Linked DNA regions of Homo sapiens: all the other regions are linked to region 1. The links are contacts of gene promoters, found by promoter capture Hi-C in human tissues and cell types (Jung and others, 2019). All regions are on one chromosome and are shown on one strand. Each heading gives the region's core, a stretch centred on a gene start or on the middle of the fragment in contact. The rest is flanking DNA. Distances are from core to core; before and after follow the strand shown. Region 1 holds the start of ZNF622 (zinc finger protein 622). Region 2 has its middle 78 kb from the start of BASP1. Region 3 overlaps BASP1 (brain abundant membrane attached signal protein 1).

Region 1 (4,155 bases), core at 433-2,932:
AGTAGATAACTAATACAGTACTGGAGAAAAGTTATGCCTGGTAAGGACTTAGGAAGGTAGGCACTATTTTTGGTAAGTGGATTTGGATAAGCCTCTCTTACAAAGGCATTTGGGCAGAGATCCAAAAAATAAGGAAGCAAGCCAGCAAAAGGATGTTCCAAGCAGAAGAGTAATGGATTTCTGACTTTCTGACTTAGTACCAACTAAAGTGCTTGTTAGAAGAACATCAAATGTGTCATTGCGACTCAAGTAGGGTGAGCAGGGTAGAGAAGGGGGTGTGGCAGGACCTCAGAGGGAGGGGTAGAGCCTCGGAGAATAGAAAGTAAGGTGTTTGAATTTGATTGAGTCAAGGGAAGGCACTGGAAGGTTTTTTAAAGCGCCATCTTCTTTTGGTTTTCTCTTGGCAGCCTGGATTCTGAGCATGCAACATTCGACTCTAACAAGGCTGACTCTGGTTCAACCAGGCTGTGTGGATGAAATCTACGACCTCCCCAAGCATTTGAAGTTCATGTTTTCTTTTTCTTTTGAGATGGAATCTTGCTCTGTTGCCCAGGCTGGAGTGCAGTGGCGCGATCTCGGCTCACCACAACCTCCGCCTCCCGGGTTCAAGCGATTCTCCTGCCTCAACCTCCCAAGTAGCTGGGATTACAGGTCTGCGCCACTGCGCCGGGACTAATTTTTGTATTTTTTAGCAGAGACTGGGTTTCGCCATGTTGGCCAGGCTGGTCTTGAACCCCTGACCTCAGATGATCCGCCCGCCTCGGCCTCGCAAAGTGCTGGGATTACGGGCGTGAGCCACCGCGCCTGGCCTGAAGTTCTTTTCTACAGAACTTTGCTGTCCTATATACATGAGGGTACACAGCCAACTGGGCACCTGGCACGGGTCTAGTCCAAATTGAGATGGGCTGTTAACTCTAAAACACACACTGGATTTCCAAGACTTAGAACCAACGACAGAGCGTAAAAGATCTAATTAATTCTTTTAGACTGATTACATGCTGAAATGACAGGATGGGCTAAATTAAACACATTAAAAGCAGTTTCACCGATTTCTCTTTACTCTTTAAAAATGTGGCTGCTATTAGAATTACCTACGTGGCTTGGACTGTGTGTCTACAGGGAGCTCCTCTCGCGCACTCTGTGCACTCAAATTCCGCCGGTGTCCTCCGCCGGAAGGGCCGCCTCAGAAAGGCCGAGCCCCCGGCCTGGCTTCTCCGGTTTCCCGGGAAAGCGTTGCAACCACGGGCGAGGGCTCCGAGGTCGGCCCCGAGGGGTAAGGGCAGCCCTTGCCTTCGCGACATCCATTCACCCGGCTCCGCAGGTGCAGCGCGCGGTCCTCAGAGAAACCCCGACCCTCGCGTCGCTGACCCGACCATTCATTAATCGGGGGCTTCCCAGGGCCCAGGAGCAGCCTCGGGCGCCCCACTCCCCCATTCTCGCGTAGCCGTCCCCTTGACCGCGTCACACCGAGCGGCACAACCACCAGGGAAGGTAACTGGGAGGGCGCGACCTCCCTCAATCAACAGCCACCTCGGGCTGACTGAGCGGACCCAGGTCCCTTTCAGCCACAGCGTTCCCTCGGCTTCCTGGGCCTCACGGCGGCGGAGGCGTGGCCACAGCCTGAGAGGCGGGTTTCCTGTCCAGTTGTGAATAACTTCCGACGTGTGCCGGAAGTTTCCTCAGTGACAATCAGGAAGTCGGCGTGTCGAGTGGCTCTTCCTGGCTGCTGAGGCGGGTTAAGGTCTGAGGGTCTTGTGGGGCCACGGCGCTGATCACCAGGTGTTTGGCTTGGTCGGTTCTTATTTCTCGCCTGGCAATGGCGACGTACACCTGCATAACTTGCCGGGTGGCGTTCCGCGACGCGGACATGCAGCGGGCCCACTATAAGACGGACTGGCACCGCTACAACCTGCGGCGGAAGGTGGCCAGCATGGCCCCAGTGACCGCCGAGGGCTTCCAGGAGCGAGTGCGGGCGCAGCGGGCCGTCGCGGAGGAGGAGAGCAAGGGCTCGGCCACCTACTGCACCGTTTGCAGTAAGAAGTTTGCCTCTTTCAACGCCTACGAGAACCACCTCAAGTCCCGGCGTCACGTTGAGCTGGAGAAGAAGGCCGTGCAGGCAGTGAATCGGAAAGTGGAGATGATGAATGAAAAGAACTTGGAGAAAGGACTGGGCGTGGACAGTGTGGACAAGGATGCCATGAACGCGGCCATCCAGCAGGCCATCAAGGCCCAGCCGTCCATGTCTCCCAAGAAGGCGCCCCCAGCGCCTGCAAAGGAGGCCAGGAATGTCGTGGCCGTGGGTACTGGTGGCCGTGGGACCCACGACCGAGACCCGAGTGAGAAACCACCCCGGCTCCAGTGGTTTGAACAGCAGGCGAAGAAGTTGGCAAAGCAGCAGGAGGAGGACAGCGAGGAGGAGGAAGAGGACCTGGATGGAGACGGTGATGGCCCTGTCTGGGCGGGGAGGGTAAAGAGGAACTTGGCCCACCCTTAAGTTTCCAGATTTATACTCGAGATGGGTGTGTGTGTGTGTTTGAGAGCTTTTAAGTAAAAATGATGAGGGAAGGTGGTTTAGACGCTTTCTGAAGTGCCTTATCTGGCCAGCAGGTTTGGCTGTTTAGTTCACTCAATTCATTCTCCAAGGCCTAAAACCTTGTCTGGAAAAAGAAGTGCTTAATGCATATTTGGAGAATGAATTGATGCCTTCTGTGTTTTGGATGAAGAGGCTTTTAACATATGCACAGGAGGACATGCTATCGTCATACCAGCTGCCGTGTAATTTGCGATTCTAGTGGGTTTCCAGTTATGATGGTTTTGCACTTAATTTAGTTGAGTAAAACAGAATGAGGGGATCAAAACCAACTCAGCCAGAAATTTGGAGCTGGAGCCAGCACCCTCACCTCTTTGCCTTTATGAGCTATTTATTCCTTACTTCCCTCATCCCACATCCTATTAACAGTGCTGGTGTAGGTGTTCATGTCTTAGTCTGTCCACTCTGCTATAAGGAAGTACTAGAGACTGGGTGATTTATGAACAACATAAATGTATTTTCCCATAGTTCTGGAAATTGGGAAGTCCAAAATCAAGGTGCTGGCAGAGTCAGTGTCTGGTGAGGGCCTGTTCTATAGATGAAGTTTTCTCATGGTGTCATCATGTGGTGGAAGAAGCAGAAGGCAAAAAAGGGGCTAGCCAGTTCCCTCGCACTAATCCATTTATTCAGGATTAGTGCTTGCCTAACCTAATCACCCACTAAAGGCCCCACCTCTTAATGCCATTTCATTGATGATTAAGTTTCAACATTTGAATTTTGGGAGGGAAACATGCATTCAAACCATAGCCGTTCATAGAGCACCCTACCAGCACATACACACACCCCATAGTACTTTTGTGAAATAGTAGATAGAGGCATTGTTTTAGAAGTTTATAAAAATATCCAGGCAGGTAGGAGACTTCCTAACTATATTTTCAGCACTGGGCTAGGTGCTGTAAGGCATAGGAAAGAAACAAAGAAAAGATTCCTGTTTCCTGGAAAAGAAAGACTAAGGAGTTTCATGGCCATTCAGATGAGTCTGTGGTAAACAAATAGCTAAAATTGAGATCTTGAAAGAGGAGTTGTCCTTGGGAGTTGGGGTGTGGCTGTTTCTCCAAATATAGGACTGTATCACCTCGTGAATTTTTGTGATATCTTTGCTTGCTACTACTTTTCTTAAACTTTATATTTCAAAATTCTGGCTTGCAGATTGGGAAGATATTGATTCTGATGAAGAATTGGAATGTGAGGATACTGAAGCAATGGACGATGTGGTGGAGCAGGATGCAGAGGAGGAAGAGGCTGAGGAAGGCCCACCCCTTGGTGCCATCCCTATCACGGACTGCTTATTTTGTTCCCATCATTCCAGCTCGCTGATGAAGAATGTGGCTCACATGACCAAAGACCACAGTTTCTTTATTCCTGATATAGAATATCTTTCAGATATTAAGGGACTGATTAAATACTTGGGTAAGTACAATAGTTTTCCTTTTAATGAGGAAATAATCACATTATTGGGGGACTGGTCTCAAGGGAACATTAGTTTTGCATTTTTCATCAATCTTTGATATAATTGCTTGGTTATTTTGTGAATGATTTTTGAGTTTTGGTGACAAATAGTGAGA
Region 2 (4,155 bases), core at 979-3,478, 830 kb before region 1:
TACAAAAATTACCTGGGTGTGGTGGCACGCGACTGTAATCCCAGCTACTCAGGAGGCTGAGGCAGGAGAATTGCTTGAACCCAGGAAGGGGAGGTTGCAGTGAGCCAAGATCGCACCATTGCACTTCAGCCTGGGTAACACAGCGAGACTCTGTCTCGAAATAAAATAAAATAAAATAGAAAGAAAAAAGAAAACAGCAGCGTAAAAACATTTGGATGCTACCAAATATCCATTTCAGATTGAGACTTCCATGGAGTGAAAAAATAAATAAAAATAAAAATGTGAGCAGCACTTTCCAAGGGCCTGGCACGATTAACCCCATTTATCCTCACAAGAACCCCGTGAGGTAGGTATTGTTAGCATTCCCATTTTACAGGTGGGTCTGAAAGTAAGTGACTTAGCTAGGATTTAGCTCTGGATAGACTCAGACCTGGACTTCAAACCCAGTGAGTGAACCCTCTGAGTCTGTTATCAACCACTATGCCATCTGCTTACCTGGTACCCATGAGCAACAGAAACAAATCATTACTTTTTAATCTGGTGATGGGGCTTTTTGTAAGGAATTAAAATGTTAAAATATGACATATGGAATTATATTGGTCAGTATGAAAGAAACAGAACCAATAGAAGATATATAAACATATATAGGATAGATGATTGATAGATAATAGATGGATAGATCCTATTGTTTGTATATATATATATATATATATATACACACACACACACAATAGGACATACATATATATATACACACATAATGTATATATATATACACACATAATGTATATATATATACACACACACGATAGGACATATATATATACAGTCATGCACTGCATAACAATGTTCCAGTTAACTGTGCACATACAATAATTAACTGCATATACAATGGTGGGCTCATCAGATTGTAATAAAGCACATATAGAAATCTGATATTTGGCACTTGACATTGGCATTGCAAATCAAGTAGGGGAATTGACTGATATTCAGTAATGGTGCTGAGACATCCGGTTTTCCAAGTAAAAATATAAATATATATGTATATATATACTCACACAACAACAAAATTCCCTAAAAATGCAATTCTGACAATGTATCTCCATCATTAAGTGATGCATGACTCTATTTACATATAGATATAGATACAAAAGCACAGAGAACGAGAGAGAGATTTATTCTAGAAATTGGCCAAGAAGTCCCATGATCCATTGTCTGCAAGTTGGAGAACCAAGAAAGCCAGTGGCATAATTCAGTCCAAGTCCAAATGCCTAAGAACCAGAAGACCCAAATCCAAAGGCAAGAGAAGATGGATGTATAGCCCAAACAGAAGCAAACTCATCCTTCGTCTCTGCCTTTTTGCTCTATCCAGCTCCTCAATGGATTGGATGGTGCCCACTCACATTGGGGAGGGACATCTTCTTTGCTCAGTTCACCAATTCACATGCTAACCTCTTCCAGAAACACCACCACAGACACACCCAGAAATAATGTTCTACCAGATATCTGGGCCTCCCTTAGCCCATTCCAGTTGACACATAAAATTAACCATCTCAGGTCATTTTCCTAAGAACACTTCTGGCCTTTTCTTAAAGGCTTTATATTTTATATTCAGGTCAGTTTATCTCCTCTGTGATATCAGCCCAAGGAGTAGGTATTTAGGACAAGCCTTACCATCTGGCAAAAAAGACAATCATCTTTGCAGTGGGGCTGGAGGATGTCCACTTCCCAGAAAGATCTCTCTCATCCAACAATTACACTGCCTAAAATTTCACCACCAGAAAACTTGTAGGGATGGTCACATGTTCACAGTGTATTGTAAATTTGCCTTCAAATTGATTTCTCCCATCCCAATTATTCCACAGAAAAGGGCACCAGGATAATGAGACGTAAAGCATCATCAAATGAAAGATGATGTTTTAATCACCTCCTCTTCATACTGTTGACAGAAGAAGGATTCCCACCTGAGAGTTATGGGAATGGTCATAACTTTTTTTTTAAGGAACTAAAAAGTGTCTAAAATGCCAAAAATATTTTTGTAAAATGAACTGTGAATGCCCAATGATAGTTTCATGACTATATCTGTATTTCACAAAAGAATCCTTTTTTCCTCACAGAGAGTTAACATAGCCTATGGTCAAACACAGGTACTCTATGATCATTTCTGGAGATGTTTAATGGTGTGTGAAGAAGACAAGCTCAGCCACCGTGCCCAGTCTCCCAAAACTTTCAATAACATCTTCATCTCAAAATTTTAGGACACAGTTCTTCTAATGAGTGACAGCATCACTGAACACCAGAAGCATCAAGGAACATCTGCTCCCCCGCACCCGTGGCTCATCTCAGGATGTTGTCAGGCAGAGTCAGACACACTACAGTGGGAAGATCAGACTGGGAGAGTTGAGCTCCAAAACAGAACTGCACCTTAAAGAGGGGGCATCTCAGAGCACCCTGACTCCTGCCAGCTCAAGGACAGAGCCAAGTCTGGCAGTGAAACCCTTTTTTCAGAGAATTTGGCAAATTTCTTCCAGTCCAAACAAATGGCCCCAATTTTAGGATGTGTAAGATGGAATAACAGGCCAGGTACAGTGGCTCATGCCTGTAATCCCAGTAGTTTGGGAGGCTGAGGAGGGCGGATCACAAGGTCAGGAAGTGGAGACCATCCTGGCCAACATGGTAAAACCCCGTCTCTACTAAAATACAAAAAATTAGCCAGGCATGGTGGTGCATGTCTGCAGTCCCAGCTACTCGGGAGGCTGAGGCTGGAGAATTGCTTGAACCCAGGAGGCGGAGGTTGCACTGAGCAGAGATCATGCCACTGCACTCCAGCCTGGGCGACAGAGCAAGACTCTGCAGGAGGCTGAGGCAGGAGAATGGTGTGAACCCGGGAAGTAGAGGTTGCAGTGAGCTGAGAGGTTGCACTCCAGCCTGGGCTACAGAGCGAGACTCCGTCTCAAAAAGAAAAAAAGAAAAAAAAATGGAATAACAATTACAGAATCATCTATACAGGTAAAGGGGACAGGAGATCCAGGAAGAGGGGAAATTCAGAGATTCCTCCACAGGGGCAGCCTCTGCAGAGAATTTGGGAAACCTGTGTAGGCTGCTGGCTGGGCTTCTGTCACTGGCAACGGGTTGAAGCTTCCTAATCTAGAAGACTGAGAAGATCTCAGTGAGGCCTGCATTTTGGAGGAGCATGGTTTGGGAGAGCTTATGTTCTGGAATATGATTCTGATCCTCCTACCCTAAGTGGGGTGTAAGGGTGGACTGTGCCTCAGGACTAAGGCCACAGTCTCATAATTTTTTTTTTTTTTAGAAAGGGTCTCACTGTATTGCCCAGGCTGGAGTGTAGTGGCAAGATCTCGGCTCACTGCAACCTCCGCCTCCAAGGTTCAAGTGATTCTCCTGCCTCAGCCCCCCGAGTAACTGGTACTACAGGCATACACCACCATGCCCAGTGCATTTTTTGTAGAGATGGGGTTTTGCCATGTTGCCCAGGCCAGTCTCAAACTTTGAGCTCAAGCAAAACACCCACCTCGGCCTCCCAAAGTACTGGGATTACAGGCGTGAGCCACCGCACCCGGCCCACCATGCCATTATTAACTTCAATGTTGAACTAGGGCTTCCTAGGTCCTCAAACTCTCTGAGATCAAGAATGATCCTCTATCCTGGGGGCAAAGATGAATCTTTATGTGAGAACAAAGTGCTCCCAGAGGCAGATACAGCAGGATTCACAGGATGAGAACTGAGCAGGGGCTGTCTGTGCAATGGACAGTGACAGTTCCATCTTCCCATTCTTACATGGAGCCACATCCTTGTGAGGTCCAGTAATCCAAACTTCTATATCTAAATCAGTGGGTTCTGCTCTGAATCTGGGTTATTCTTCAAGGGCAGGGATTATATTAGAATTTATTCTCTTTGAAAATATAACTCTTTTCAAAGTGATGAAGATTCGTGCATACCCCAGCATTCTGTAAGTTCTCCCTTAGGAGCAAATAAAAGTTGTGCAGCCTTAATTTAAGCCTATTTCTATTTCAGTCCTATGTGAATAGAGGGAGACAGAGGGAATTATCAACCATTCTTTGGGAAAAAGAAAACAACTCTAAAAGTACCTAAAGATACAAAAGCTGTCATTTAGCTTTCTTTTTGGAGGCAAGT
Region 3 (4,155 bases), core at 664-3,163, 790 kb before region 1:
AGGCCTGCTTAACCCTTTTATATTGTTGGATTGCGTTCAAAGTTTTAGCAGTAAAATAGGCTTGCCTGACTTCACTTGAATCTTGACCTAGGGCGTTTCTTCAATATTTATTCAACATCAATCTGAGGCTTCAGAACAAAGATTTTGCTTTGTGGTTGTTCGTGCACAATGGGTACTAGATAAACATCACAGACTCACTACAGACGGGAACATCTAATTTGCAAATTATGAACTGTAAGATGGAAGAGTCCCTGACTAGAAGTTGGGTTATGTAACTTACCTTTCACCAGCAGTAGAAAAAAATCAATAAACTAAATTGTAACTGAAATTTCCGTTGCATTAAATGAAATGCGGTCAAGTTCCAGGCGCCATCCATGATCACAAACTCTCTGCCACCGGGACTCAGCACATAATTAAAGACCAGAATGCAGAAATCACTACAATGATATTGTCAAGATTTTTTTTTCTTTTGTTACTATGTGCATATTGTAGAGACCAATTTTTAAAGGTGAATCTCCCAATTGATTCTACAAGATTTAACCATAAAACCCTGACTTGATAATGCTTCTATAAAGGTGGCAGATAATAGTTAAGCTTCTCCTTGAATGTAAAGGTTGACTGTATAGACACTAATGCAGAAGGTTTTTTCTTCTTTTTTAATACATCCTGCCACATGTAGCAAACACTATCAGGAAACATGCATTATTCATTCTCGTCAATAGTCTAATATGCTTTTTAGAGTCTGCTGTGTGTTCACATTGTTATTTATTTGCACTTAACGGGTGGTCCTTTCAAAAGCCCCAGTTATTGCAGCCTAACATATGATTTTACATGAATCACCTGCTCTTTTGGTCAATAAAGGGAGTAAGTGAACCACAACCCGCTCAGGAAATGCAAACTGCAGAGATCATTTCTGTACCATTTCTCTCTTCCATAGACCAGGAAACTAATAGATCATATCACCACAACTAATTTAGAATTCTCCAAACAGAGCTCAAAATAAGGCACAAGGAAAACACTTAGAGCAGCTGAGATATTTCTGCTGCTTCTTAATGGACTAGACAGACCATGATGGGCTTGGAGCCATGACAGGCTCGATCAATGTGGCCACCTGACAAAGACAGGCTGGTGATTAGGGAGAAGAGGGGAAGCCTGCCTACTCCAGAAATAACTGCAATTTATTTCCAGTAGTTCCTGTCTCCAAAAATAAAGGGCTGGTTCACACTTTTCACGACCACCTAAAATTCTTACATATTGACATTTTCATGTATCAATTTTTTTTGGCACCAACAGCAAATGTAGTATTTTCAGTCCTAATGCTATTTCATATTTTAATGATTTTCAGTGAAAACCATCTAAAATCCTTTATGTATGTCCTTGACATACTAAACAAAGAATTTGCTTTTTCCTTTGTCATGTTCAGCACTAACAGGGGTTTGGTAAATGTTTGCCAAATTAATAAAAGAATGTATTCAATCCAAAGATGAATACTATGCTGATATGGTTTGGCTGTGTCCCCACCCAAATCTCATCTTGAATTGTAACTCCCACAATTCCCGTGTGTACTGGGAGGAACCCCGTGGGAGGTGATTAAATTATGGGGGCAGGTCTTTCCTGCACTGTTTTTGTGGTGGTGAATGAGTCTCACGAGAGTTGATGGTTTTAAAAACAGGAGTTTCCCTGCACAAGTTCTCTTTTTGCCTGCCACCATCCATGTAAGACATGACTTGCTCATCCTTGCCTTTCACCTTCCCCCATGATTGTGAGGCCTCCCTAGCCATGTGGAACTATAAGTCCAATAAACCTCTTTCTTTTGTAAATTGCCCAGTCTCGGGTTTATCTTTATCAGCAGCATGAAAATGGACTAATACATATGCAGTGTGCCATTTCCAGATTCTACTGCCATGTTGAGTTCAAACAGCATAGTGTGACTTTCAATGACATTTGTCATCTGGTCCCTCCTTATAAATTCAAATGTATCTCCCCAGATTTCTCAAGCAAATGCTTCACCCCAAATTGTCCATGCTCACTTTCTGCTCCACACTTTTGCCTTCTTCAAATTTGAGCCCTTTAGCTACCTAAAAAACCAGGCACTGAGCCACAAGGCAACACCCAAGGTGTGAATCCCAGAGGGCTGTGACATTTAAAAACATAACAGAGGGTATTTGTCCCCAGCCATGGAATTCCAGAGACGATGCATTTCATCCCCAGACTTGGGGATGAAACACAAACTAGAATTCAATACCAACTGCCCCTTACTCATGATGTGACTCAGAACAAAGTCACTTCAACCTCTTATTTGCCAATGTTTCTGTATAACGTGTCTAATATTGGGAGTGAAATTTATGTAAACAGGAATCATCTGAGAAGCTTGTTAAAAATATAGGTGGGGGGAGTGTTATCTCTTTCCCAAGATAATTAATTAGTGGGCTCAGCATGAGTCCCAAGAATCTATTTTCTACCAAGTTGACCAGGTAACACCAAAACAAGTAGTGCAGGGGCTGCATGTTGAGAAATACATATACATAGCATTTGCAGTGACTTTGAAAACTAATGCTTTTGCATCATCTGTAAAACCTGAAACATGAAAATCCCAAAGACCAATGTGATTACTGCTGGTTACAAAGCTAAAAACAAGCACAGCAGAAAACCTAGCCAGGTCTAACCGAGAAGTGAGTGTGCACAGAACAGGTGGTGTCGGCCCCAGTGAAATCTCATCAGCTATAGAGATATACTGCCTTTGAGTTCTCTTTGCTACCAGAGCCACAAATAAATTAGAATGACCCAGACCTACTCTCCCTATCAGAATTTCCCCAGCAGCCAACTGCCGTCTTGTTAGTACCACAGTTTAGCCAGAGGAGGCAAGATATAAGCAGCCTGTATGGAAAAGCAAGAGCAGTGTGAGCAATTTCAAGAACCCCTGATGATAACACCAGGCCCTGGGCAGTCCCCTTGCTACCCCAGATGCTCCTGTCACTGGCAGGGGAAACACAGGAACGGTGCTGTTTGGCTCTGTAAGCTCCTTTCTTACACAACATGAAGCTTCCATTGTTCAAGGTTTATAGCCTGCCCTGTGAGACAATACTGTTTTCAGAAGCCTCCATTTTATGTAATTAAAGTTCACATTTCAGAAAACAGGTTTTCCTCTTTTAGTTCAAGCGGAACTTTGATGGCTTGCCAATAAGTTTTGGATCTCAATCCAATATACTCTGTGAAAAAAAGCACATAGGCAAGGGGATGAGAGACCACGTTCAGCTATGTGACCTGGGGCAGGGAGTCAGCCTCAGTGAACTCAACCTTTGCCTACAGAAGAAAATAGAAGGGGAGGTGGTTGTTAGCATTAAATGGAATATTTGCAGTAAAGGATATAGTTCAGCTCACTACACACAGTAGGTATTCAGTACATTTTACCTTCATTTACCTAAAACCATTTCCCAGCTCCATTCATGTAGAATAGAGAATAACTCTGAATTTCAAGATTAAGTAAAAGATCGGTGGGACCAATTACTGTATTCAACACAGGTAAACAATAGGAATTGATTCAATTATAACAAAAAGAATCACTCTTTTTGTTTTGTTTTTTAATCACTCTTTTTAATATTTAAATTCTAGGTTATAGCCTGCAATATCTGTTATATAATCTGTAGATTCTAAGAGCAAGTAAATGTTAATAAATCTCACAATGATAAAAACAGCCTCCTCACACTGGTAAAAGATGAATGCCATCCAGGAATACAAATGCCTGCATCCAGTATATACAGAAAAATGTCTCCAAGAAACTATCAAAAGGGAGAATGAGCCTCAAAATGTGTTCTAAGTCCCAGGAGAGACTCTATTTAAAGCAACCTCAGCAGATAGTGTCTTTTCCAAACTATTTCCATCTTACTGGCTTTAGGTTAGGTAGAAAGGTTGTGATAAAGGACCATGTGCCATATTCTGTTTCACCCAGTTCACTTGTTTGGGGTTCAGTTAAATTATCAGGAAACCTTTTCCCTAGAAATATTTTTTTTTCCACCCACAGCTATAAAATCCTATATTCAAACACAAAGTAAAGCAAAGAATTACTGGAGATCCTTCCTCAACCTTAGCATGCAATTAAGGCCACAAGTCAGCCACCAGTATTTTTTTCCTATAGGCTTAGAGAATCACTCTCCT

The links. The method cuts DNA at HindIII sites, captures the fragments that hold promoters and counts their contacts. A contact is called where the count stands out against the background at its distance.
Region 2: a fragment that was not itself captured here is called in contact with the fragment with the promoter of ZNF622 in region 1 in 1 of the 25 tissues and cell types used here (lymphoblastoid cells).
Region 3: a contact is called between a fragment that was not itself captured here and the fragment with the promoter of ZNF622 in region 1, in 1 of the 25 tissues and cell types used here (dorsolateral prefrontal cortex).

What each region holds. Positions count from the first base shown.
Region 1 is chr5:16,463,327-16,467,481 of GRCh38, reverse strand. It overlaps ZNF622 (zinc finger protein 622), which reads left to right and starts at 1,682. Exons shown (of 6, transcript NM_033414.3): 1 at 1,682-2,441; 2 at 3,740-4,000. The coding sequence starts at 1,817. RefSeq lists enhancers at 1-22, 2,305-2,374 and a silencer at 275-497. The HindIII fragment of the contact is 5,798 bases long and covers 1-4,155 here.
Region 2 is chr5:17,294,051-17,298,205 of GRCh38, reverse strand. No RefSeq gene overlaps it. Among named protein-coding and RNA genes, the nearest start is that of BASP1, 78 kb to the right of the region's middle. The HindIII fragment of the contact is 3,402 bases long and covers 528-3,929 here.
Region 3 is chr5:17,256,741-17,260,895 of GRCh38, reverse strand. All of the region lies in intron 1 of BASP1 (brain abundant membrane attached signal protein 1), which reads right to left. Among named protein-coding and RNA genes, the nearest start is that of BASP1, 41 kb to the right of the region's middle. The HindIII fragment of the contact is 4,658 bases long and covers 1-4,155 here.